Linked DNA regions of Homo sapiens: region 2 is linked to region 1. Evidence: promoter capture Hi-C in 16 types of primary human blood cells and fetal thymus (Javierre and others, 2016). All regions are on one chromosome and are shown on one strand. The core of a region is centred on a gene start or on the middle of the fragment in contact, and the rest is flanking DNA. Distances in the headings are between cores, read along the strand shown. Region 1 holds the start of MROH2B (maestro heat like repeat family member 2B). Region 2 has its middle 120 kb from the start of LINC02104.

What was found. The method cuts DNA at HindIII sites, captures the fragments that hold promoters and counts their contacts. A CHiCAGO score of 5 or more calls a contact.
Region 2: a contact is called between a fragment that was not itself captured here and the fragment with the promoter of MROH2B in region 1, in 1 of 17 cell types (activated CD4 T cells). The highest score is 5.8, in activated CD4 T cells.

The regions. Positions count from the first base shown.
Region 1 is chr5:41,069,294-41,074,255 of GRCh38, forward strand. It overlaps MROH2B (maestro heat like repeat family member 2B), which reads right to left and starts at 2,049. Exons shown (of 42, transcript NM_173489.5): 1 at 1,532-2,049; 2 at 398-459. The coding sequence starts at 1,559. It overlaps LOC105374739 (a long non-coding RNA gene), which reads left to right and starts at 2,064. Exons shown (of 6, transcript XR_001742650.2): 1 at 2,064-2,635. The HindIII fragment of the contact is 2,936 bases long and covers 1-2,489 here.
Region 2 is chr5:39,641,042-39,646,003 of GRCh38, forward strand. No RefSeq gene overlaps it. Among named protein-coding and RNA genes, the nearest start is that of LINC02104, 120 kb to the left of the region's middle. RefSeq lists an enhancer at 4,934-4,962. The HindIII fragment of the contact is 908 bases long and covers 1,595-2,502 here.

The DNA.
Region 1 (4,962 bases), core at 799-3,298:
TCAATTCTTAGGTAAACTTCTAGCTGTGAAATAGCATTATAGATGAGCAGGGAAGAGCTTTTGGGATTTTTGTAACAACCCTCAAATTATAAAAGAAACAGTCTCATCCACATGTTTGTAAGTCTGACATACACCTTTCAACATCTGCCTGTATAAAGTTATAAAAAGGAACTTTTTTTTTGCTATTTTCTAGACATAGATGCTGTGATTCTTGAAATGCCAAATATCATTGCTTAAACATTACAATGACTTTCATTACAACTGCATTTACTGAAAAATCTAATGCCATGTAACAAGCCAGAGAAAAATGAGAAAGTTGAGACAAAGAAAAATATATACGAAATGTTGCAACAAGAAGACTGAAAAAGGGAAAAAGATTTTTCTCTGTTTTCCCTACCTTGTTAACAATATCTTCCTTGTTCAGCATGCCAAGAGTGAGGTTAATATCCCCAAACATCTCTAAAACGTACAGAAAAATATGAATTGAAATATATGCTGAAATGCCCTCCTGTTAATTATTTTGTAATCAACACAGAAAGTTCATTCATTCATTTATCCTCTCTCTCTCTCTCTCCCTTGACTGCTAGCTCTTTGATGGCAGGAACTGTTTTATTCATATCCATGACATAAATGAAACTAGCAGATGCTAAGTTATTATTATTTTTGAAACCTGAATCAAATGTGAAAGGGAAGATAAAAGATGCCGGATTCCTATGTATCCCTCCAGGCAAGTGGGCATTGCCTTGTAAATTCTCTCTTGCAGGATTTAGCTCTCAGAGTCAATGAGGTGAATTTCTCACTCCTGACTTAAGCATTAGAAGGCAGGGGTGCAACATAGCTGTTTATTTTTCACTGGTCCTCCCCTCAATACCTCTCCCATCTTCTTTTTCCATACCCTTTTCAACTCCACCTATTCTCCTGTGCCTGCCAACTCCCTCTTTTGGTCACATGCTAATGAAGGCTTCCTGTTTTCTGACAATGACCTAAATGTGTTTGACTTGCATTTTCTAGGAATATATGTTTTTGAATAAAGCACTCTAGAAAACTGGAAAAAAAATTGAGTCAAAGGAATTGAGCAATTTCAAGCTACATGGCAAGTTGGTAGGAGAAATACTTTTGGAGATGAAGATTTCTTATTAACCTCCACACCAAACAACATACTCATTTAGGGCAATCTTTTTGGCAAAGTAGAAAGGCAGCCATACCTGGAAATTGGGAGAAATACTTCCAAAGGACTCTTCTAGTATTTAAAATTAAATAACAAACTGCCTTTCTTTGATATGTAGCCACTTTCTCCTCAGGTAGACTCTAAATTTTAAAGCACAACCATCTCTTAGGCTTCCAGTCTATTATTGGTCCTTCACAATCAGCATGATTTTATTATGTATTTAGCATACCATTTCATAAATCCTTTGAGGTGTACAGTCCTCCCACAATGACGCGCCACTCCCAGCCCTCATATATACTTATAATTCCACAGAAACAAAACACAGGGAAGAGCCTTGGCTTCTCAGGATCTGATGATGCTTACCTATGGATTCCTCTGTACTAAGTGTCATGTCTTGGCTGTTTCAGGGTCTCTAAAAGATAGCACCTAAGTATTAGAAATAGTAAGGCTAAAAAATCAAAGAGGCAGGTTGGCAAGTTTCTCATATAAGGTTCACATAAGCCTCTCTAAATGAAAGTGCCTCCTCCACTTGATTGGCACAATGGTCTGGGAGCTTCCAGAGATGGGCTTGCTGTTGAAGTTGATACTGTATTCTACCACTATGACATTGTCTTGCGTCTGAACTCCTGCTAACCAACAAAATGGCTGCATCTCACCAAATATTGTCCCTTTGGTGACCAGAGTATTTGGGAAAGAAGTAATTAGAGACTGGGATTCAAACCATTGTTGCAGACCAAAGGTGCTCCTCTCCCTAAACTTGAGTCCATTGATCACAAATTCAGGAATGGTTTTCAGTAGTTGCTTTACTGTCCTGATGTTGGGAAAGGCTTTATGGTGAACTCGTTGATTGTTACACTTAGTGAAAATCAGTCATATGAACTGAGCATGCTCAGTGGACTGGAATGCACTTCAGGGGCAGTTGGATGGAATGTCCAACTGACAGCAGCAAAGTGAAGACCTCTCTACCTCCCTCTCCATTAATTCCTCCCTGGCATGTTCAGGATCTTGGCCTCACTCCAGGCTCAGGCTTTTTCTCTGTCTTCAGCTTTCTTTTTGTTTTCAAATTATTTTTTATCTAGATCAATTTTCCATAATGTTTTCAACTTATCTAGCATGAATTGAAATCTGGTCCCCAACTATAAATCTATGTGATGACAATCTTCAATATATGTCCAGACTCTATGTGAATATGGAGGATGATAGAGAAAGGGAAGGCAGTACTGCTAGTCTATAGGGCTAAATGTAGAATGGGCTGAGGAGGGGAGCTCATGACAATTTTCATCTGCTGCTGCTTTTTTGGCCATCTTAACTTCATCGGTGAAGCTTATTCCAGATTCAAAGGTCAACTGCTTCCAACTAAACCTTTGAATTCATCATTCTTCTCATAGACATTTTGCACTGTATTAAAGAGATCCTCAACATTTTCCGCTTCCCAAGTCAGCATCACTTTCAGAGTTTTGTCTCCAGGTGACTTTATCATGGGATTTACTTGGTATCCTTATTTAAAATGTGAATTCCCAGGCCCCACTTCAGACCCAGTAAATTAGAATGAGGGGGCAGCAATCTATATATTTAATGTGCGCCCCTGGTGATTCTTAGGTTCACTGAACTTTGAAAAGCACTGACCAAGGTCCTTGCCCAAACATTCATTAGTGGATCAGTAAATAGCAGTTAACTGAAGAATGTTTGTTGTGGTTGGGCAAGGAGCTCTTCCCCAGCATCATGACTCACTGAAGAATAGGCCAAGTTTGGTTAGTCAGGGAGGTACTGGGGTGATTAGAGGCATCCCGAAACTCTTAACATCTATAAGATGTTAAGTCTACTTGTAGTAAATAAAACAACAGATTCCCTATAAGGGAAAAAATGATGTTAGAAATTATGTGCTCTTAGAGTCTTAAAAAACAATGTACAGCAGAATCAATAATAAGAAAGCTAGCCATTTAGGTAATTGTTACAACCATTTTCTTAATATTTTTGTGAATGGTGACAAATGATTTTTCTGTATGTCTGTATATAAAGACTTCCTTGATTTCATAGAGATTAGAGAAGTTAGGAGATAATTGATTTATTTTGACTTTTAATTTATTCATCGCTGCAATCAAAACACAACTTTTTGCTAAAATCCTTTCAGACAAAGTAAATTCACTCATTGAAACCAATACTGCAGATAGTTTTAAAATCCCCAAATCCTCAAAATAGCTGATTTGCTGTCATTTTATTTCATTTTTCAGTCGCCTGCTTGTTACATCTTCCCATTATTTCTTCCTCTTCTCATTGCATGAGGCTAACACAATATGGATTTGATTTCTCTAAGACTCTAAGAGGATCCTAAACACGAATTCTCAAAGTGAATAGGATGGCATGTGCTAACTAATTAAGTACTGTTTCTAGATATTTGTGAGGGAGCCTAAATCTAGCCTGCTAAGGAATTAGAGTGTCTCACTGGATATGTGGTAGCCATCCCCTTTCAATGTAACTTGTCAAATGAAGCTACCCAATCCCAGGCCTACTATGTTCCCACATGATGTTATCAGACAAAAATATTAATAAGGCAGTAAAGGTAAAATATAAAGCTAAAGAAGAATAGATACATAGAAATAATACAGAAACGTTATAAAAATTTAAATTTTATGGTTTTAATAGTTTAATTGTAGATGATTTTAATGTATACTACAATTAATCTAAACTTTGATATTTATCCTTTTATTCTTCAGATGACGTGTTAGATTTTTATAAAATATATTAAAAGTGAAATTAGGCTGTGTTTTGTTTGATTTGTCAGTTTCATGAGATAAGCCTAATTTCTTTTTTAAAAATTTTATTATTATTATACTTTAAGTTCTAGGGTACATGTGCACAACGTGCAGTTTTGTTACATATGTATACATGTGCCATGTTTGTGTGCTGCACCCATTAACTCGTCATTTAGCATTAGGTATATCTCCTAATGCTATCCTTTCCCACTCCCCCCACCCCCCAACAGTCCTCAGTGTGTGATGTTCCCCTTCCTTTGTCCATGTGTTCTCATTGTTCAATTCCCACCTATGAGTGAGAACATGCGGTGTTTGGTTTTTTGTCCTTGCGATAGTTTGCTGAGAATGATGGTTTCCAGCTTCATCCATGTCCCTACAAAGGACATGAACTCATCATTTTTTATGGCTGCATAGTATTCCATGGTGTATATGTGCCACATTTTCTTAATCCAGTCTATCATTGATGGACATTTGGGTCGGTTCCAAGTCTTTGCTATTGTGAATAGTGCCGCAATAAACATACGTGTGCATGTGTCCTTATAGCAGCATGATTTATAATCCTTTGGGTATCTACCCATTTATGGGATGGCTGGGTCAAAAGGTAATTCTAGTTTTAGATCCCTGAGGAATCGTCACACTAACTTCCACAATGCTTAAACTAGTTTACAGTCCCACCAACAGTGTAAAAGTGTTCCTATTTCTCCACATCCTCTCCAGCACCTGTTGTTTCCTGACTTTTTAATGATTGCCATTCTAACTGGTGTGAGATGGTATCTCATTGTGGTTTTGATTTGCATTTCTCTGATGGCCAGTGATGATGAGCATTTTTTCAAGTGTTTTTTGGCTGCCTAAATGTCTTCTTTTGAAAAGCGTCTGTTCATATCCTTCACCCATTTTTTGATGGGGTTGTTTGTTTTTTTCTTGTAAACTTGTTTGAGTTCATTGTAGATTCTGGATATTAGCCCTTTATCAGATGAGTAGGTTGCAAAAATGTTCTCCCATTCTCTAGGTTGCCTGTTCACTCCGATGGTAGTTTCTTTT
Region 2 (4,962 bases), core at 799-3,298, 1.4 Mb before region 1:
ATATCTTCTTCGGTATGCAAATGTTGGTATTTTTTCCCTGAAGAAGCTCTCAATTTCCTGATGCTTTAGTCCAATAATTACACATAGTGGGCAGGCCATTAAAAACATATGGGTCAACATCCTGCTGTCTATTTCTGTTGGTATCACAAATGGACTGCTCTTCTTTATTAATTCAACAAATATTTATTGAGTACTACATGTTAGTGCCTGATGTTGTAGCAATAAAATGGTAGACAACACAAAATAAATTTCATTGATTCATGCCTTTTATACTTTTTTTGTGAGAAAAATGCTTTTTTTCCTCATTTTTTAATTTGAACTCTTGACTCATGATGTTTTCTATCTTTCTTGTTTTTCTATAGTCCATGGTTTTGGTGTGCTATGCAAACAAAGAGGATTTTTCACTTCTAATGGGATCCCCATTAAAAATATACCCCAAGTGTACGGGCTTCTTTCTGTTACTTTGTTGCCCTCACAAGTTGCTATTAGTAAAATTGAAGCTTTTTATAAAACTGAAACTGAATATCAAGAAAATGCTCTACCCGACTTCCATTTTCAATTAATAAGTAATACGGTATGCAATCTAAAGAATTCCATAAGATTGATTCCAATCAAATAACCACCTATGATAATTTATTCAATAATTGATGCTGTGCACCTGAATTAGAAAAGAAAAGAAAATTGACACTTAAAAGATTCAAATTTAACACTAAATGTGAACTCACTGAGAGCCCAGATGGACACCTTGTCATCACTGAGTCTTCAAAATAGCCACTATTAAAAGATCTACACTACATAACTCACCATAATATAGTCAAAACGGTCCAGATTATGAAAAAGTATGGGGGTTATTGTTCTAAAGTTGCAAAAAAGGTTTATAACTAGTGTCTGATTTGTCATATTCCTAATTTGAGAAAAGCCATTAAGGTTCCAGGTGGTACATGTTTAGTATCTGCAAGATCATTTTCACCCCTACAAATAAACTTCATTTATCTGCTATCCTCCATGGCTTATCAGTATGTTATGTAACTGTATGCCTGTTCTCAGGATAGATTGGAGCCTTTCCATGCAGGAAGGTTGATGCCACAACAGTGGCAAATTATCTGTCTATCTATCTATCTATCTATCTATCTATCTATCTATATCTATCTATCCATCTGTATATACTAGAAAATGTATTTCCTTCATGAAGTGTCCTTGGAGAGATTTCCAATGATAGGAGAACTCATTTTACTGGACAAATTATTAAACAATTAAATAAAGTTTTACAAACAAGATGACATTCTCATTGTCTTTACCATCCTAGTCTTCTGTAAAGGTTGAATGGACAAATGGTATCCTAAAACTAAATTTGGCTATATTAACGGAATTCATTGGATTGCCGTCACCAAAAGTTTTACCACTGACTTTAATGATAATTAAATCTACCCCTACTGCAATGCGCAAGCTGACACCTTTATAAAATAGTAACTGGAATACCTGTGCCCTTCATGATAAAACCTCATGTATTTCTTATATTTGTAATCGCTGACATGACTCAATATTGTGAGGCTTTGATACATTATGCCAATGCATATTTTCATTAGGTTAAATAAGCTTCTGTGACTCACTGATTCATGATCAGATTTTCCACCATCTAGAACCTGGAGACTGGGTCTTTTGGAAACGATATCAAAGAAAGACTACCCTTGAACCTTGTTGAAAGGGAACATACTAAGTTTTTCTCATAATTCACACTCCAGCAAAACTTCAAGGCCTTGAATCTTAGATCTATGTCTCTCAACTGGAGGGGGGCCCCCTCAATTTATGGAACTACATGCCAGTTGGTAATCTAAAGATAAAGCTGACCAGAAAGATCTTTCTCCAGAAGCAGATGACATCTTAAATGTAAACAGCTTTCCCAAGAACCTCCTCTCTCCATCATGAACCCCCTATTTCTTTTCCTCTCCTATTTCTTGCTCCTCCTTTTTATCTTTGCATGGAATCTAACGGGTTGGGCATGGTAGCTCATGCCTATAATCCCAGCATTTTGGGAGGCCGAGGAGGGTGGATCACCTGAGGTCAGGAGTGCGAGACTAGCCTGGCCAACATGGCGAAACACAGGCTGTATTTTAAAAAAATTCAAAATTAAAAATATTCAAAAATTAGCTGGGTGTGGTGGCAGGTGCCCATAATCCCAGCTACTCAGGAGGCTGAGGCAGGACAATCGCTTCAACCACGGAGGCAGAGGTTGCAGTGAGCTAAGATTGTACCATTGCACTCCAGCCTGGGCGATAAGAGCAAAACTCCGTCTCAAATAAATAAATAAATAAATAAATAAATAAATAATCTAACAGTCAATAATAGCTTTCACAGAAAATTTAACTGAATGCTGGATTTACACACTAAGCCAAAATCTTTGCATGACTTTAGAGATCCTTTCCTCCACATTGTAACTGAAATAACTAGAATCCCAAATGCAACCATCTGTTTAGATTGCACAGCTGGTTTCTTCTTTAGTTAAGCTTCTGGACCCATTTATTTTTAACCCTTGTTTTAATATAACCCCAATAATGGATTGGGCTGACCAGGTCTGCTCATATTGGAAGAATGTTATGATATATACATATGAACATAAATAGATATATCTGCAAGAATGCCTATGTACCTATGTCTTTTGACAGGCTTTCAGTATATAATAACTTAACATCAGTCTCTTGGTTAAACTAGAAACTGCCAATGCCTCTATTCCAACTAATGGTTGTATAAAAGAAATCACCCAAGGTAGAGGCTTATGCCCACCCCCTGGGTATATCTTTATCTCTTGAGAATTTACCTCTCAGCCATATATTTGGACCACCCTATGTCTTTACAGATGGAGAATTAAAGGCCAATGAAACCTAGACATTTTATTCATTCATCTATTTGTTCTTGCTGAGTAAATAATTTTATTTTTTTTCAGCTTTTATTTTAGGTTCAGTGGGTATATGTGCAGGTTTGTTACATGGGTAAATAGCATGTCATTGAGGTTTGGTGCACAAATGATTCCATCACCCAGGTAATGAGCACAATACCTAGTAGTTTTTCAACCCATTCCTCCCTCCAACATCCCATATTAGTCCCTAATATCTACCGTTGTCATTTTTATGTCCATGTTTACCCAATATTCAGCTCCTCCTTATAAGTGAGAACATGTGACATTTGGTGTTTTGTTCCTGCATTAATTTGCTTAGGATAATGGCCTGCAGCTGCATCCATGTTGTTGCAAAGGACATGGTCTTGCTCTTTTTTATATCTGTATAGTATTCCATGGTGTATATGTACCATATTTTCTTTATCTGGTACACTGTTGATGGGCACCTAGGTTCATTCCATGTGTTTGCTATTGTGAATAGTGCTGCAATGAACATATAAGTGCATGTGTCTTGTCTGTAGAATAATTATTTTCCATTAAGTATATATCCAGTAGTGATATTGAAGAAACTATCAGCAGAGTAAACAGACAACCTACAGAATGGGAGAAAATATTCACAAACTATGCATCTGACAAAGGTCTAATTTCCAGAATCTATAAGAAACAAACAATTCAACAAGCAAAAATCAAACAACCCCATTAAAAAATGGGCAAAGGACGTGAACAGACACTTCTCAAAAGAAGACATCCATGTGGTCAACAGATACATTAAAAAATGCTCAACATCACTAATCATTAGAAATTTTAATAGTGCATTGTTTCTCCCTATCCAATCAGAAGCTAAACATTGGTCTACCCCTCTAAATATATTATAGATTAAGCAAAAACATACCAGCAGATGTATAGAGAGGTCAAGAAGAATCTGGGCAGGCCTTGATAGATTTTTTCACTCAGTCTATTACTGTTAGCTCGTACATTTTTTTTGTTTGTTTGTTTAACCATATTTCTACATGACTGTCCCTACTTCAGTGAATGGAAGCATAAAATCAGATAGTTTCCCCTGTATCTTTGAGTCTTCATTCTGAAGGCTCCCATGTCATGAAAAACTGATGAATTAAATTTGTTATGCTTTTCTCTTGTTAATCTGCCTTTTGTTATAGGGGTGTTGGCCAAGACCCTTAAGATGGGGAGGAAAGGAATCACCCCCTCTCCACCCCAATATGACAATGCTGCATCACAGCACTCTGAATCTTTTTTTGATTCAAAGTACTATCCAATTTATGAATTGTTCTTTGCTCAAATAAACTTTATTAAATTTATTTTGCCTAAAGATTTTTTTCAATAGTATTCTACTATGAAAATCTTTTCCATGGTTCTTCATCACCTACAAGATGAAGTTCAAACTCTTTACCTGTGAATATCTCATCCTTCATGAATTGAACCTATTTACCTCTCCAACGTTATCGTCCACCACTTCCTTGCCTGTCCTTTATAATCCTGAAGTTCTACACTGTTTTAAATGCTACATACATCTAATAATGTTTTTCAAGTCTATATTTTGACCATGCTATTATTTTTCCTGGGATCCCCTCCTTACTTCACCCCTGCATAGGAAGTACCTGGATATTTTACAAGGCAGCTCAGATACTATCTCTTTTATGATGACATCCCTAACATATTCTTCCTGTATGGGGCCCAGAATCTTGAGCATGTTTCCATATCTGCATTTATAATAAGTTACCTACTTATGTGTCTTTCTTTTCCTTTGAAATGTAAGCTTTCTATGAGCAAAATACTGCTTTCCTCTTTATTCAATATATTTGACCAAACTTGTTTATTATTTGCTGATTTTGAGTGCTGAACTCTTTTGGTGTTTTCTCCTTTATGGCAGTCACCTTGTCTTGGGTCTGGAAGAAAGCAAAATCTCAAGAACAAATGTTGAACTATAATGAGACTAACTTTTCCCTCTTAACTTAGGCCCTTGTGTTCTTTAACCAAATTTGAGTGTTTTGTCCCTCTTTCTTGTGATAAGCCTTTTTAAAAAGAGTCTTCTATTGATTAAAAAAATT